Linked DNA regions of Homo sapiens: regions 1, 2, 3 and 5 are each linked to region 4. Evidence: promoter capture Hi-C in human tissues and cell types (Jung and others, 2019). All regions are on one chromosome and are shown on one strand. Each heading gives the region's core, a stretch centred on a gene start or on the middle of the fragment in contact. The rest is flanking DNA. Distances are from core to core; before and after follow the strand shown. Region 1 has its middle 8.5 kb from the start of MIR1237. Region 2 holds the start of SYVN1 (synoviolin 1). Region 3 has its middle 8.0 kb from the start of CDCA5. Region 4 holds the start of PYGM (glycogen phosphorylase, muscle associated). Region 5 overlaps VPS51 (VPS51 subunit of GARP complex).

Region 1 (2,700 bases), core at 53-2,552, 380 kb after region 4:
TATCCTAAGGAAATATTTGGACAGGTGAGCAAAGACGTAGGTACAAGGATGTTCACTGCAGCACTGTTTAAAATAGCAAGGAGCTGTAGCCAAAAATAGAAACAATCTAAATAAATCATTGCATACCCATATAATGAAGCACCCTACAGCTACAAAGAATAATTGTAAAATATAGTCATTGACATAGAAAGATATTCACAATCTATTTTTGACTTTAGACAGGCTATAATAACCTATTTACATTTTGATGCCATTTTAACTAAAAATCTGTATCAATAAAGAAAATTCTAGGCCGGGCATGGTGGCTCACACCTGTAATCCCAAAACTTTGGGAGTCCGAGGTGGGAGGCTTGCTTGAGCCCAGGAGTTCGAGACCAGCCTGGACAACATAGTGAGACTCCATCTCTACAAAAAACAACAACAAAATCAAAAAATGAGGTGTGAGAATTGCTTCAGCCCAGGAGGTTGAAGCTGCAATGAACTATGATCATGTCACTGCACTCCCGCCTGGGTGACAGAGTGAGACCCTGCCTCAAAAAGAAAAAAAACAAAGAAAAACTTAGAAGTGAATGCATCAGACCAGGCGAAGTGGCTCATGCCTGTAAGTGGCACTTTGGGAGGCCAACACGGGTGGATCACCTGAGGTCAGGAGTTCGAGACCAGCCTGGCCAACGTGGTAAAACCCCGTCTCTACTAATAATACAAAAATTAGCCTGGTGGGATGTTGCGCACCTGTAATCCCAGCTACCTGGGAGGCTGAGACAGGAGAATCACTCGAACTTAGGAGTGGGAGGTTGCAGTGAGCTGAGATACCGCCACTGTACTCCAGCCTGGGTGTCACAGCAAGAATCTGTCTCAAAAAAAAAAAAAAAAAAAAAGAATTGAATGCATCAAAATATTAACTAACACAGTTTATCTATGGAGAGTAATGCCACGAGTGATTTTTTGAAATCTCCTTTGCATTTACTGATTTTTTCTTTTTTTTTTTTTTTGAGACGGAGTCTCGCTCTGTTGCCCAGGTTAGAGTGCAGTGGCGCAATCTCTGCTCACTGCAAGCTCCGCCTCCCAGGTTCACGCCATTCTCCTGCCTCAACCTCCTGAGTAGCTGGGACTACAGGAGCCCGCCACCACACCCAGCTAATTTTTTGTATTTTTAGTAGAGACAGGGTTTCACCGTGTTTGCCAGGATGATCTCGATCTCCTGACCTCTTGATCCGCCCACCTCGGCCTCCCAAAGTGCTGGGATTACAGGCGTGAGCCATCGTGCCCAGCCTCTTACTGATTTTTTCTAAAATTAACATTTAATTAATATGAATTTTTACTTATACATGCATATTATTATATAGTTGTTCGACTACACATAAATATTCCTGGAAAACTACACAAGAACACATTAGCTTCCTCTGGCAACAACAGAAGGTACGTGGCAGAGGGTCAGCATGTGGAAGAACATTTTTCACTATGTACTTTTATGGATCCTTTGAATTTTGAATCATATGAATTATATATATATATATTTTTTTTTTTTGAGACAAGCTCTCATCTCACTATGGTGTCCAGGTTAGTCTGGAACTCCTGAGCTCAAGGGATTCTCCCTCCTTGGCCTCCCACAGTGCTGGGATTATAGGAGAGAGCCACCCCACTCGGCCAAATTTATCGTCTTTCACAAATACAAATAGAAACTAAATTTAAGTTTTAAAACAAAATAAAAGATTTTTTTTTTTTTGAGATGGAATCTCGCTCTGTCGCCCAGGCTGGAGTGCAGTGGCGCCATCTCAGCTCACTGCAACCTCCACCTCCCGGGTTCAAGCGACTCCCCTCCCTCAGCCTCCCAGGTAGCTGGGATTACAGGCCTGCGCCACCACACCCGGCTAATTTTTATATTTTTAGTAGAGACGGGGTTTTGCCATGGCTGGGTTGGTCTCGAACTCCTGACCTCAAGTGATCTACCCGCCTCGGCCTCCCCAAGTGATGGAATTACAGGGATGAGCCACCGCACCTGGCCAAAAATAAAAGATTTAAGGGGTATCTTTGACATTTCACAAAGCCCATTTTTGTGCAGCAGTGACCGTGGAAGGAGACTGTTTATATCAGAGTCACAAACTCAAATGCCTAGAGGGCCAGAGGGATGAATGCAGGACAGAGCTGGTGTAACCACAGGGAGTGGTGGGGACTGCGGCAACCTGGAAAGCAGAGGCCCTGTCTGTGGCGGCAGCGTGATTCTGCTCCAGCTGATTAGACCATGCAGGAAGACTGCCCCAGGGCCAGCCCTTCCAGCTCATCAGCAAAAGCCTCACATCTAGGATTCCATATGCTTTTCCTCATTTTACAGCGTGTGCTTAGGCCAGGTGCGGTGGCTAATGCGTGCAGTCCCAACACTTTGGGAAGCAGATCACTTGAGCTCAGGAGTTCAAGACCTGCCTGGGCAACTTGGCGAAACCCCATCTCTACAAAAATACAAAAATTAGCCAGGCATGGTGGCGCATGCCTGTAATCCCAGCTACTTGGGTGGCTGAGGTGGGAGGATCACTTGGGCCCAGAAGGTTGAGGCTGTAGTGAGCCGAGATTGCACCACTACACTCAAGGGTAGGCGACAGAATAAAACACTGTCTCAAAAAAAAAAAAAAAAAGTGCTGGCCCCAAAAATGAGTTTCTATAGGCCAGGCACAGGCCAGTTTGCAATCTCTACGTTCATATGGA
Region 2 (2,700 bases), core at 40-2,539, 370 kb before region 4:
TACGTGGCCTTACGGGGAAGCCAACTCTGACTGGTTATAAGCTGAAACTGTCAAGTCAACAGGTGGCAGGGAAGATGGCTGAGACCAACAGCACAGAGATTTAGAGGCAGACAGACCTGGCGCCAATCCTAGGACAGGTTTTGGTAAGCCTTTGAATTTCAATTGCCCCACGTTTCGGGGGAGGGGGTAGCACCCCCTAGCTCATAAACCTTAGTGATTGATGATTAAATGAGATGACGGAGGAAAACGCAAGGCACAAAGTGGATGCATTAGCTCCATTTTGTTAATCAGCAGGCTTAGTTGGCTGCGACCCAGACACGAACTAAAATACAGTGCAGCCCAGGACCAGTGGGGGTCTTGCTTATGGCTCAGAGCTGAACAACACATGGGCAGCAAAATCAGACACTGAGATGCGGGCAGGCCTGCGACGCTGAAGTCAATTCCTTTGAACAAACAGAACACTTCCGTCCCAAGATTAGCAGGAATTAATCTCCCAGTCTCGGGTACACCTGGTTGTCCCTCCCTGTCCTGGCGCGGCAAACGTTCCCGGAGGCCAGCCAGGGATCACTCGCCCAAGGACTGAGCTTTCCCTACTCTCAGCCAACTGGAGCGGGACCAGGGCCTAGGCAACGCAGCTGTCCGCCCCTAACAACCACTCACCTGCTTTCCCCTTTCTATAGGCCAGCAAAGGTACATTCTTTTTCTTATTGGGCCGCGTAACTTATCGCAACCAATCAGTGGCAGCCACGGGACCCAACTCACTCCCACACAACTTGTGGGGGTGATCATGGAGAAGACAAATTTTTGTTTTCCGCATCCAGTTCTCTCAGAGAGCACCGTATTTGTCAAACTGTTGTGACTCTCCCTAAATGTTTAAGAAAACATTTCATTCCCCTCAGGCTTGTATAGTCTGTCCCTGGCCTACTCCCCGCTCCAGGTGGTACAGCCCGCAAGCGGCTCCCCTTCCCAGCTGCTCGCGGGGCCGAGTCCCCCAGTCCGAGGAGGCCACTCAGCGCAGGAGCCATACCATCTGTGACTAATAAATAATAGGGGGACCTCCGACTCCCCCCTGTTGCCTTATTACCTTCCGACCACCTCTCGGACCTCTTGCCCAGCCCTTCCCCGTAGACATCACCCCAGATACGGTGGTGACACCATTGCTATGGGCCCACGTAGGGCGCAGTGCGAGCCAGGGCAGGACGCACTTGGTACGACCCACGCCGCGCCCCGCGCCGCCGGAAGTGAGGTGTCTGACCCCCGAAGTTCCGGTTCGCAGGGGGTGGGGAGTGTTGTTAACCGGAGGGGCAGCCGCAGTCGCGCGGATTGAGCGGGCTCGCGGCGCTGGGTTCCTGGTGAGTGGGGCGAAGTCTGGCCCGAGTTGTGGTTGGGGTCGGGACCCGAACCTTCCCCTTGAGGTCTCCGGAGTCGGCACGCCCCTCAGCCCCGCCGCACGCTTTCGGCCTGTCAGCTGGCCGGAGACCTCAGACGCCGGTGCGGCCGCTTTGCTCAAGCCTGGGCCCTGCCTGCGACGCCCGCAACTCCTGGTGCTCACAGGTGCGCGGCCGCGAGGGCGACCCGGCTCCTCCCGTCCCGCTGCTGCTCTCTCCCGTCCCGCTGTTTTTGTGGTGCTCTGAGTTGACACTACTCCGGGGGTCGGGGGACCCCAGGATTCCAGGCTGACGTTCCCCGCCCGCTCCCGCAGGGCGGGCGTCCGAACTGCCCACCCTAACACAGCTGTCACCGGCGCTGTCGCCTGCCCAGCCTGCTATCCTCTGTGCCTTGGCTGCTCTCAGCCCTGGCTGCGCATTCCCGCCCCTGGAGCAGATTTCTGCTGTTGCCTCCCACCCCATCTTCTCCACCGGAGGGTCAGCGGTGCAGCTCCCCCTCCTCCAACATTGCAGCTTTTCCTCATCACCTCCCTAGAGGAGGCGGCTTGGCAGGCAGCGTGGAAAGAGCCCTAGATTTGAAGCAAGACTGACCCAGGTTCCAGGCCTTGCGTCAGTGTGATCACTTAACCCCTTCGAGTCTAATTTGTAAAATGGGGTAGCGTAAGCTATTCTTTGTCTGATGATTTCGAGGGCGAAATGTGATTTCCCCCCCACTTTCTCCTATGAATTGAGGCTGTGCCAGGCACCGGGCTATTTTGCACAGCACGAGCATCACATAAGTTATTTTCTTGCCCCATGCAGGTCTCCGGGCCAGGGCAATGTTCCGCACGGCAGTGATGATGGCGGCCAGCCTGGCGCTGACCGGGGCTGTGGTGGCTCACGCCTACTACCTCAAACACCAGTTCTACCCCACTGTGGTGTACCTGACCAAGTCCAGCCCCAGCATGGCAGTGAGTTCAGGGCTCAGGGAGGGAGGAACTCCCTGGGAGGGAAGGAGGAGTCTGCCTGGGCAAGGGGCGGGGCTAGAGGTCAGGTAAGTAGGGAAGTAGCCGCCAGCTGCCTAACTTTGAATAAACTGTGATGAGGATGTGGAGGATCCTGCATGATGAGTCCCAAGGAGAGGAAAGCAGAAAGTGACCTCAAACCACAGCCTCTCCCCACTCCTAGGTCCTGTACATCCAGGCCTTTGTCCTTGTCTTCCTTCTGGGCAAGGTGATGGGCAAGGTGTTCTTTGGGCAACTGAGGGCAGCAGAGATGGAGGTAAGATGTCGGCTGCCCCAAAGGTGAGGGCAGGGTGCTGGGAAAGAATGTT
Region 3 (2,700 bases), core at 188-2,687, 320 kb before region 4:
AGAGCCGAAGGTAAGGCCAGGCCTCCAGTGGGCTGCATCACTGGGGTTGTCCCTTTGTCCAGGCGCTCCCAGCCCCGCTTCCCCGCATTCGCCCCATGGTAGATCACTGTGCCCCACACACTTTTTTTTTTCTTTGAGACAGAGTCTAGCTCTGTCTCCCAGGCTGGAGTCCAGTGGCGTGATCTCAGTTGACTGCAACCTCTGCCTCCCAGGTTCAAGCGATTCTCCTGCCTCAGCCTCCCAAGTAGCTGGGGTTACAGGTGCCCACCACCACGCCTGGCTAATTTTTATATTTTTATTAGAGATGAGGTTTCACCATGTTGGCCAGGCTGGTCTTGAACTCTGACCTCAAGTGATCTGCCCTCCTCGGCCTCCCAAAGTGTTGGGATTACAGGCGTGAGCCACTGCGCCTGGCCTGTCCTGCCCCGTGTCTTGTTTATTTCTGTCCAGTCCCCAGTCTGCTCCTCTTCTAGGAGGAAGAAAGTCGGGTCTGGGGTGAGAGTGCTAAGAGCTCCCCCAGTGCCCACGGGAGATGCCTGGGAAGCAAACACCCTCCCGAGTCCAGCCCTCGTTCCCCATTCCCTTTCAGGCTCCTTTGAAGGAGCCCGAGTTGCTCACTCCATGGTCCAGACTGGACACTGTGTAGCAGCAGGTGCTGTGGGACCCTGGGGAGCTGATCAAAGATGCTGATGCCTGGAAATTCTCCCACTTGGCCTTAGGTAAGGCTAGGACCCTACAGGCAGGTGGCACAGACCAGCCTCCCATCCCATCCTCCACACTTGTACTTGCCTCCTAGTCATCCAAACAAATCAAAGCCATTAAGTTCTCCACAGACTTAATCCGCTTTGACCTCCTTCCCCCACCCAGAGGAGATGGGTCCCCTCTTCAAGGCTAGCCTTTCCACTTTGGTTTTTGATCCAATTATCTTGTCTCTGAAACCTTCCTCTTCTTTTTCTTCCAAGTCCTAAATGGCTTTTATTTGCTTTGTTGTTAAAAAATGACAACCAGGCTGGGCACAGTGGCTGACACCTGTAATCCCAGCACTTTGGGAAGCTGAGGCAGGAGGATCACTTGAGCTCAGGAGTTCAAGACCAGCCTGGGCAACATAGGGAGATCCTGACTACAAAAAATGTAAAAAAAATAAATGGGCGTGGTGGCACATATCTGCAGTCCAGCTACTCAGGAGGCTGAGGTGGGAGGATCACCTGAGCCTGGGAGGTCGGGGCTACAGTGAGCCATGGTGACGCCATTGCACTCCAGTCTGGGCAACAGAGTAAAGACCCTGTTTCAAAAGACAAAAAAGACAACCAAAAGTCGACCAGCATCTGTCGTTAGCTACCACCATTTTAAGCTTGAAGGAACGTTCCAAGTTGCTCTTTACTTTGAATTTATTCCCAATGCCCTCGTCACTCTCTTTAACAGCTCAGACAAAGGTAACCAGTGATGTCCTAATATCCAACATACTAAGCTCGGGCCTCTGCCAGGACACCCTCTTTGGGGCTGTGGCACTGCCAGCTCCTTTTTCTTGGCTTTTCCTGAAATGTCTGGATACCAGGCCTCAGTCCTGGACCCTCTTTCCCACCTGCCTGCTCTTGCCGGGTAGCCTCGCTCTCTGGACTGCCTCCTTGCTCAAGACTTGTCCATCTTTATCTCCAACCTAAAACTGTCCTGAGCTACAAATCAGAATCTAGAACTGCCTTTCAGGAAGTCATCTGAAGCTCTGCTCATCCAGCAGCTTGCCTACTCCTGTGTTCTCTGTGCCATTAGCAGAGCCACCAGCTGACACAGTCACACGGGCCAGGAACCCAGGACCAGCTCCTTCTTCCTTCACCCCATGTGGCCAGCCCCATCCCCCTCAACATCCCCCCCACCCCACAGCCACTAGACAATTGCACTAGCCTCCTGTGGGTCATTCCCTTGGGCTGCTGTATCTCCACACTGTCTGCACTGCAGCTAGAACACATTTCCTAAAACACACAATATGATCCTGTTTCTCCCCTCCTTAATTTTTTATTTTTATTTTTGAGATGGAGTTTCACTTTTGTTGCCCAGGCTAGAGTGCAGTGGTGCAATCTCGGCTGACTGCAACCTCCACCTCCTGGGTTCAAGTGATTCTCCTGCCTCAGCCTCCCAAGTAGCTAGGATTACAGGTGCCCACTGCCACACCCGGCTAATTTTTCTATTTTTAGTAGAGACGGGGTTTCGTTATGTTGGCCAAGCTGGTCTCTAATTTCTGACCTCAGGTGGTCCGCCCAACTCAGCCTCCCAAAGTGCTGGGGTTATAGGCGTGAATCACCGTGGCTGGCACGCCGGGCCTATTTCTCCCCTCCTTAAAACCCTTTTTTTTTTTTTTTTTTTTGAGACGGAGTTTCACTCTTGTCACCCAGGCTGGAGTGCAATGGCACGATCTCGGCTCACCACAACCTCCACCTCCCGAGTTCAAGCGATTCTCCTGCCTCAGCCTCCTGAGTAGCTGGAATTACAGGCATGTGCCACCACGCCCAGCTAATTTTGTATTTTTAGTAAGAGACGGGGTTTCTCCATGTTGGTCAGACTGGTCTTGAACTCCCGACCTCAGGTGATCCACCCTCCTTGGCCTCCTAAAGTGCTGGGATTAGAGGTGTGAGCCACCATGCCCAGCCAAAACCCCTGCCAATTTTTTTTTTTTTTTTTTTTTTTTTTTGAGACAAGGTCTGGCTC
Region 4 (2,729 bases), core at 228-2,727:
GTGGTGGGTGCCTGTAATCCCAGCTACTCAGGAGGCTGAGGCAGAATTGCTTGAGCCCAGGAGGCGGAGGTTGCAGTGAGCTGAGATCATGCCATTGCACTCTAGCCTGGGCGACAAGAATGAAACTCTACCTCAAAAAAAAAAAAAAAAAAGTTCTCAGAAACAGCTTGGCTTTCTCCGAACCAGGCTCTCAATAGTATCCTGCAGCTGTCCAGGCTTTTGACCTGCTTCCTTGGCCTTCAGAACAGAACACCCAGCTCTTCCCCTCCACCGGCCCACCACCCGGGAGGCCCAAACAGCCTTTGAACTAGCACAAGGTCCTGGTTCCTTTCTCTTAAAGAACAGCAGGATCCGAAGCCTGCCCTCACAAGATGAGGAGGCAGCAGCTGAGAGGCAGGGATTTTTTTTTTTCTCATTGGAGAGTCTAAATTTGGTGAAGGAATCCAAAGCTCAGAAAGGTAAAGCAACCAGCTTGAGGTCACACAGCAAGTCAGTGCTGGGGCCAGAACACAGCAGTGAATGGGAGGATAGCCAAAGCCTCCAGGGAAGGGCTCAAAGCTGTGGGGCTATGCACACAAATGGGGTGAGGTCCTCGAGGTACAGATTAGGCACCCATTTTATAGGCCAGGTCACAGAGCTGGTTTACAAAATCCTGCTCAGAGTGTGGCCCCAGGTGGCAGGAAGAAGTGAAAGAAGGCCTCTAATCACTTCCTAAGCAGTGGAATCACAGGGAGAACTTACTGTCATTAAACCAGTATGATGATGGAGTGGGGAATGCCTCAGTTTCTCCCACCGCCGAGGGCCTATAGGACTACAGTTCCCAGGGCCCCGTGCTGCAGGCTAGCGGCCTCCCGCCAATGCTGGCCAGTAACCTGAGCATCCCTCTCCAAAAGGTCACTTCAGGGCTCCTTGAGGGACAGCAACAGGGGGAGCCTAGAGCTGCTCAGCTTCGGTGGGGGTGGAGTGAGGGCTGTGGCCCTGCCTCACACAACCTCCCTCACACCACCCCTGCAATGCAGGGTCGTGGGCCCCTTTCTCAAAGACATCCAGTGGCCTCTGCTAGTTGCACCTCTTCCGTCAGGGGACACTGACTTGGCTCCTGCACCACAGCCTGCAGGGGGTCCTGGTTCCTTTTGCCACAACACATGGCCTCCCATCCTGGTTCAGCCACTGACAGACAGCTCCCCAATCCAGCACTCTGCCTGCTCCTTCTTGTATCCAACCCTCCAAAAGGCAGGGACAAGGGACAGAAGACCATGTGCAAGGCCTGGAGGAAGTGGGTCAGCACAGGCCTGTGAACAAGCCAGGCCAGTCTTGGCGGCCCAAGTGGAGCTCACCTCTCCCTCCCCTCTCCTCTCCTCCCCTTGCCCTCAAAATAGCTCCCTGAGCTGCCAGGCCAAGACCCTCCCATTGCAGGGGAGGCGGGGCGTGCTGCCCAGAGCCAGGCTTTAAATCCCCTTGAGGCTGGGGAGCTCCACTCCTTGGCTGGAGGCAGTGCTGAGGCCGCCGTCCCCTCTACCATCAGTCCAGTCCGGCCCGCCCTCCTGCAGCCATGTCCCGGCCCCTGTCAGACCAAGAGAAAAGAAAGCAAATCAGTGTGCGTGGCCTGGCCGGCGTGGAGAACGTGACTGAGCTGAAAAAGAACTTCAACCGGCACCTGCATTTCACACTCGTAAAGGACCGCAATGTGGCCACCCCACGAGACTACTACTTTGCTCTGGCCCATACCGTGCGCGACCACCTCGTGGGGCGCTGGATCCGCACGCAGCAGCACTACTATGAGAAGGACCCCAAGGTGCTGCTGGGGAGCCTGGGGTGGGGGTATGGGCTGAAGGCGCTGCCAGGGAGCTGGCGATCTTGACTTAAGTGGCTGCCCCTCGTCACTCTAGGTTCTTGGGGGTGGAGAATCCAGGGGTGCCAGGCACAAGGGGTGCTGGGACAATCTGAGGGAGAAACCTGGGGCAGGAGTGGGGGTCAGGGAGCTCAGAGCAGGTGGGCTGGCTGCAAAGGGTCAGTGCCCACTCGGAGAAGGTTGGAGTGGGTGCTGGTGGGCAGGACGGCGCCTGTGGCCTGGCTGGGCCCAGGTGGAAGGACACATCAGTTGCTGCATGTATGCGCGGTGTGCCTGTGCAGCAGGCGGGGCTGGGGCAGCTGGGGCGGCAGAGATCAAGTGTCCGGTGGGGTCACTGGTAAATGTCAGCAACCTGACACGCCTCGGTGGGGAGTGGGGGAGGGGCGGGCAGACGGCCCAGGAGGGGACCCAGGAAACTGGGAGACCAGGCACTGGCAGCATCCTAGTTTCTGGTGCCTCTGGGTCTCCTTGGGATTGAGGCTTGAGGGCCAAGGGGAACTGGACAGTGCAAGGATGGGAGGTGACAGTCTCTAGCCCAGTCTCTAGCCACTGTGTGACCTTGAGCAAATGACTTTTTTCTCTGGGGGTGTGTGCAGGGGGAAGGGGTGCCCATTCTCCCGAGTACCTCAGTCCCTGAAGTGGGTATGGCCAGCGCTATTTCCCAGATGAGGAGACTGAGGCCAAAGAGAGTGATTTGTCCAAAGTCAGAGGAATGCTGGGACCAGAACCTTAACCGCTGGGCCCCAAAGCCTGAGACAGGGAGAAACAAATTGGGGACAGGGATGGGACTGCTGAGCAGGGCAGGCGGGCCAGAGGTCCAGGCGTGGCTGGGCCTGGCTGAGTGTTGGTGTGTGGCCCTGACCCCATTCCCTGCCCA
Region 5 (2,700 bases), core at 7-2,506, 340 kb before region 4:
AGAAACCCTGTAACCCTTGGCAGTCATTCCTTATTCCCCCACTCCTAGAACTTGGCAACCATTAATCTAGTTTCTGTCTCTATGGATTTGTCTATTCGCTACAGAATACATTTAACAGAAATGGAATCATAGGCATATGAAACATTAGCATGTTTCCAAGGTTAATCTATGTTGTAGCCTGTGTCAGTATGTTATATCTATTTTTATGGCTGAATAATATTCCACTGTGTGGATATTTGTTTATATTCATTCAATTGATGGCCATTTGGATTGCTTCCACCTTGTGGCTATTATAAAAAGTGCTGCTATTGGCCAGGCATGGTGGCTCTTGCCTGTAATCCCAGTACTTTGGGAAGCCGAGGCAAGCGGATCACTTGAGGTCAGGAGTTCAAGACCAGCCTGGCCAACAAGGTGGAATCCCGTCTCTAGTAAATATACAAAAAATAAAAATAAAAAAATTAGGCGGGTGTGATGGTGCACACCTATAATCCCAGCTACTCAGGAGGCTGAGGCAGGAGAATCGCTTGAACTGGGGAGGCGGAGGTTACAGTGAGCCAAGATGGCACCACTGCACTCTAGCCTGGGTGACAGAGCTAGACTCCATCTCAAAAAAAAAAAAAAAAAAAAAAACACTGCTATGAACACTTGTGTACATGTTTTTATGTGAACATGTTTTCAATTCTCTTTGGTATATTCCTAGGAGTAAAATTGCCGATCATATGGTAATCTTGTGTGTGGTTTTGAAGAATGGTCAAACTGTCTTCCACACTGGGTGCAGCATTTTGTGGTTTGGATTTGCATTTCCCTAAGACCTAATGATGCTGAGCATATTTATATGTGCTTTTCGGCCACTTGTATGTTTTCTCTGGAGAAGTGTCTATTCAAATCCTTTGCCCATTTTAAATTAGGGTTATTTGTCTTTTTAGCCCTGAGCTAAAAAACGTTCTTTTTATGTTCTGAACACTAGATTTTTATTAGATAACTAACTTGCAAATATTTTCTCCCATTCTGTGGGCTGTCCTTTTATTATTATTTATTATTATTATTATTTTTGAGACGGAGTCTCGCTCTGTTGCCCAGGCTGGAGTGCAGTGGCGCGATCTCGACTCACTGCAACCTCCGCCTCCTGGGTTCAAGCGATTCTCCTGCCTCAGCCTCCTGAGTAGCTGGGACTACAGATGCCTGCCACCATGCCTGACTAATTTTTGTATTTTTAGTAGAGATGGGGTTTCACCATATTGGCCAGCCTGGTCTCAAATGCCTGACCTCAGATGATCCACCCGTCTCGGCCTCTCAGAGTGCTAAGATTATAGGCATAAGCCACCGCACCTGGCCTTTTTATTTATTTATTTATTTTTTGAGACTAGGTCTTGCTCTGTCACCCAGGCTAGAGTGCAATGGTGAGATTATAGCTCACTGCAATCTCCAGCTCCTGGGCTCATGTGATCCACCCACCTTAGCCTCCCCAAGTAGCTGGGTTTATTCTAACAAGTGTGTGCCACCATACCCAGCTATTTTTTTTTTTCTAGATATCGGGTCTCACTATGTTGCACAGGCTGGTCTCAAACTCCTGGGCTCAAGTGATCCTCCCACCTCAGCCTTCCAAAGTGCAGGGATTACAGGCATGAGCCACTGTGCTCAGCCCCATCCATTCCTGCCAGTGCAGCTGGAGGAATCTATTCAAACCAGAAATCTGAGCACATCACTCATTTGTTTTAGCTCTCTGTGGATAAAAGCCAAATCCCTAATACATTCTGGAAGGTTTCTAGTTAAACTGCACATCTACTATCTGCCTGGCTCTGCCCACATTCTGCTTCCCCTCCTGCTACCATAGATGAGCTCCCGGCCCTTTGCTGAGGCCGATGCCTCCATCCCTGCTCTGTTCCACCCCCCTCCTTCCTGAGGACCTAGTTCCTTTCTCATTTTTCTCTCTCTCTTGCCCAATCAACACACACTCCATGCTACATTACTTTCCTGAGTGTCTCGCCCAAGTCTATCAAATCTATGTCTTGAAACACCTTCCTCACGCAACCTCCACCTCCTGGGTTCAAGCAATTCTCCTGCCTCAGCCTCATGAGTAGCTTGGACTACAGGCATGCACCACCTTGCCCAGCTAATTTTTGTATTTTTAGTAGAGACAGGGTTTCACCATGTTGGCCAGGCTGGTCTTGAACTCCTAGCCTCAAGTGATCCACCCACCTCAGCCTCCCAAAGTGCTGGGATCACGGGTGAGAACCCCATGCCCGGCCCCTCACTTAAGCTTCTAAGACATCAATGCTCCTGGTTATCCTCACACTTTTCCAAACGTTTGTTCCTTTTGTGGGATGTACAAAAAGAGCTAAGTCTCAAAATATTATTATACACATTCCAACAAATGGAAAATGTAATCTTATTAAATTCCTGTGAGAAATATCCCAGCACAGAAACTATGATTTCTTGCCATTTTGATGCTGGTATTAGCTAACAGAAAGGTGCCTACTCATGGAATCTGCTTCAAATCAGATAAAAGAACAATGTGTATAGGTTACCACACCCACCACTGTGACACGAGAGTAAGACATCAGAATGCAACCCCACAGATGCTCCCAGAACATTCCACAGGCTGCAGGTAAACCCTTTGGATCTGGCTCCTGGACTTACTACACGTGGGTGTACAATTACTACAAAAGTCTGAGTAGTACATCTCCTCAAAACAGCACA

What was found. Contacts are between HindIII fragments. The study calls those that stand out against the background at their distance.
Region 1: a contact is called between a fragment that was not itself captured here and the fragment with the promoter of PYGM in region 4, in 2 of the 25 tissues and cell types used here (dorsolateral prefrontal cortex and thymus).
Region 2: a contact is called between the fragment with the promoter of SYVN1 here and the fragment with the promoter of PYGM in region 4, in 1 of the 25 tissues and cell types used here (spleen).
Region 3: a contact is called between a fragment that was not itself captured here and the fragment with the promoter of PYGM in region 4, in 1 of the 25 tissues and cell types used here (spleen).
Region 5: a fragment that was not itself captured here is called in contact with the fragment with the promoter of PYGM in region 4 in 2 of the 25 tissues and cell types used here (H1 embryonic stem cells and spleen).

Annotation. Positions count from the first base shown.
Region 1 is chr11:64,375,767-64,378,466 of GRCh38, reverse strand. No RefSeq gene overlaps it. Among named protein-coding and RNA genes, the nearest start is that of MIR1237, 8.5 kb to the right of the region's middle. The HindIII fragment of the contact is 8,669 bases long and covers 1-2,700 here.
Region 2 is chr11:65,133,108-65,135,807 of GRCh38, reverse strand. It overlaps SYVN1 (synoviolin 1), which reads left to right and starts at 1,289. Exons shown (of 16, transcript NM_172230.3): 1 at 1,289-1,352; 2 at 2,190-2,338; 3 at 2,556-2,648. The coding sequence starts at 2,207. RefSeq lists silencers at 610-793, 2,510-2,686 and enhancers at 779-1,288, 647-1,550, 1,839-1,908. The HindIII fragment of the contact is 5,976 bases long and covers 1-2,700 here.
Region 3 is chr11:65,074,722-65,077,421 of GRCh38, reverse strand. It overlaps a transcript of CDCA5 not described here. Among named protein-coding and RNA genes, the nearest start is that of CDCA5, 8.0 kb to the left of the region's middle. The HindIII fragment of the contact is 9,601 bases long and covers 1-2,700 here.
Region 4 is chr11:64,758,722-64,761,450 of GRCh38, reverse strand. It overlaps PYGM (glycogen phosphorylase, muscle associated), which reads left to right and starts at 1,477. Exons shown (of 20, transcript NM_005609.4): 1 at 1,477-1,795. The coding sequence starts at 1,553. RefSeq lists enhancers at 660-1,362, 1,363-2,067, 2,068-2,729. The HindIII fragment of the contact is 11,504 bases long and covers 1-2,729 here.
Region 5 is chr11:65,098,456-65,101,155 of GRCh38, reverse strand. All of the region lies in intron 2 of VPS51 (VPS51 subunit of GARP complex), which reads right to left. Among named protein-coding and RNA genes, the nearest start is that of VPS51, 3.6 kb to the right of the region's middle. The HindIII fragment of the contact is 4,540 bases long and covers 1-2,700 here.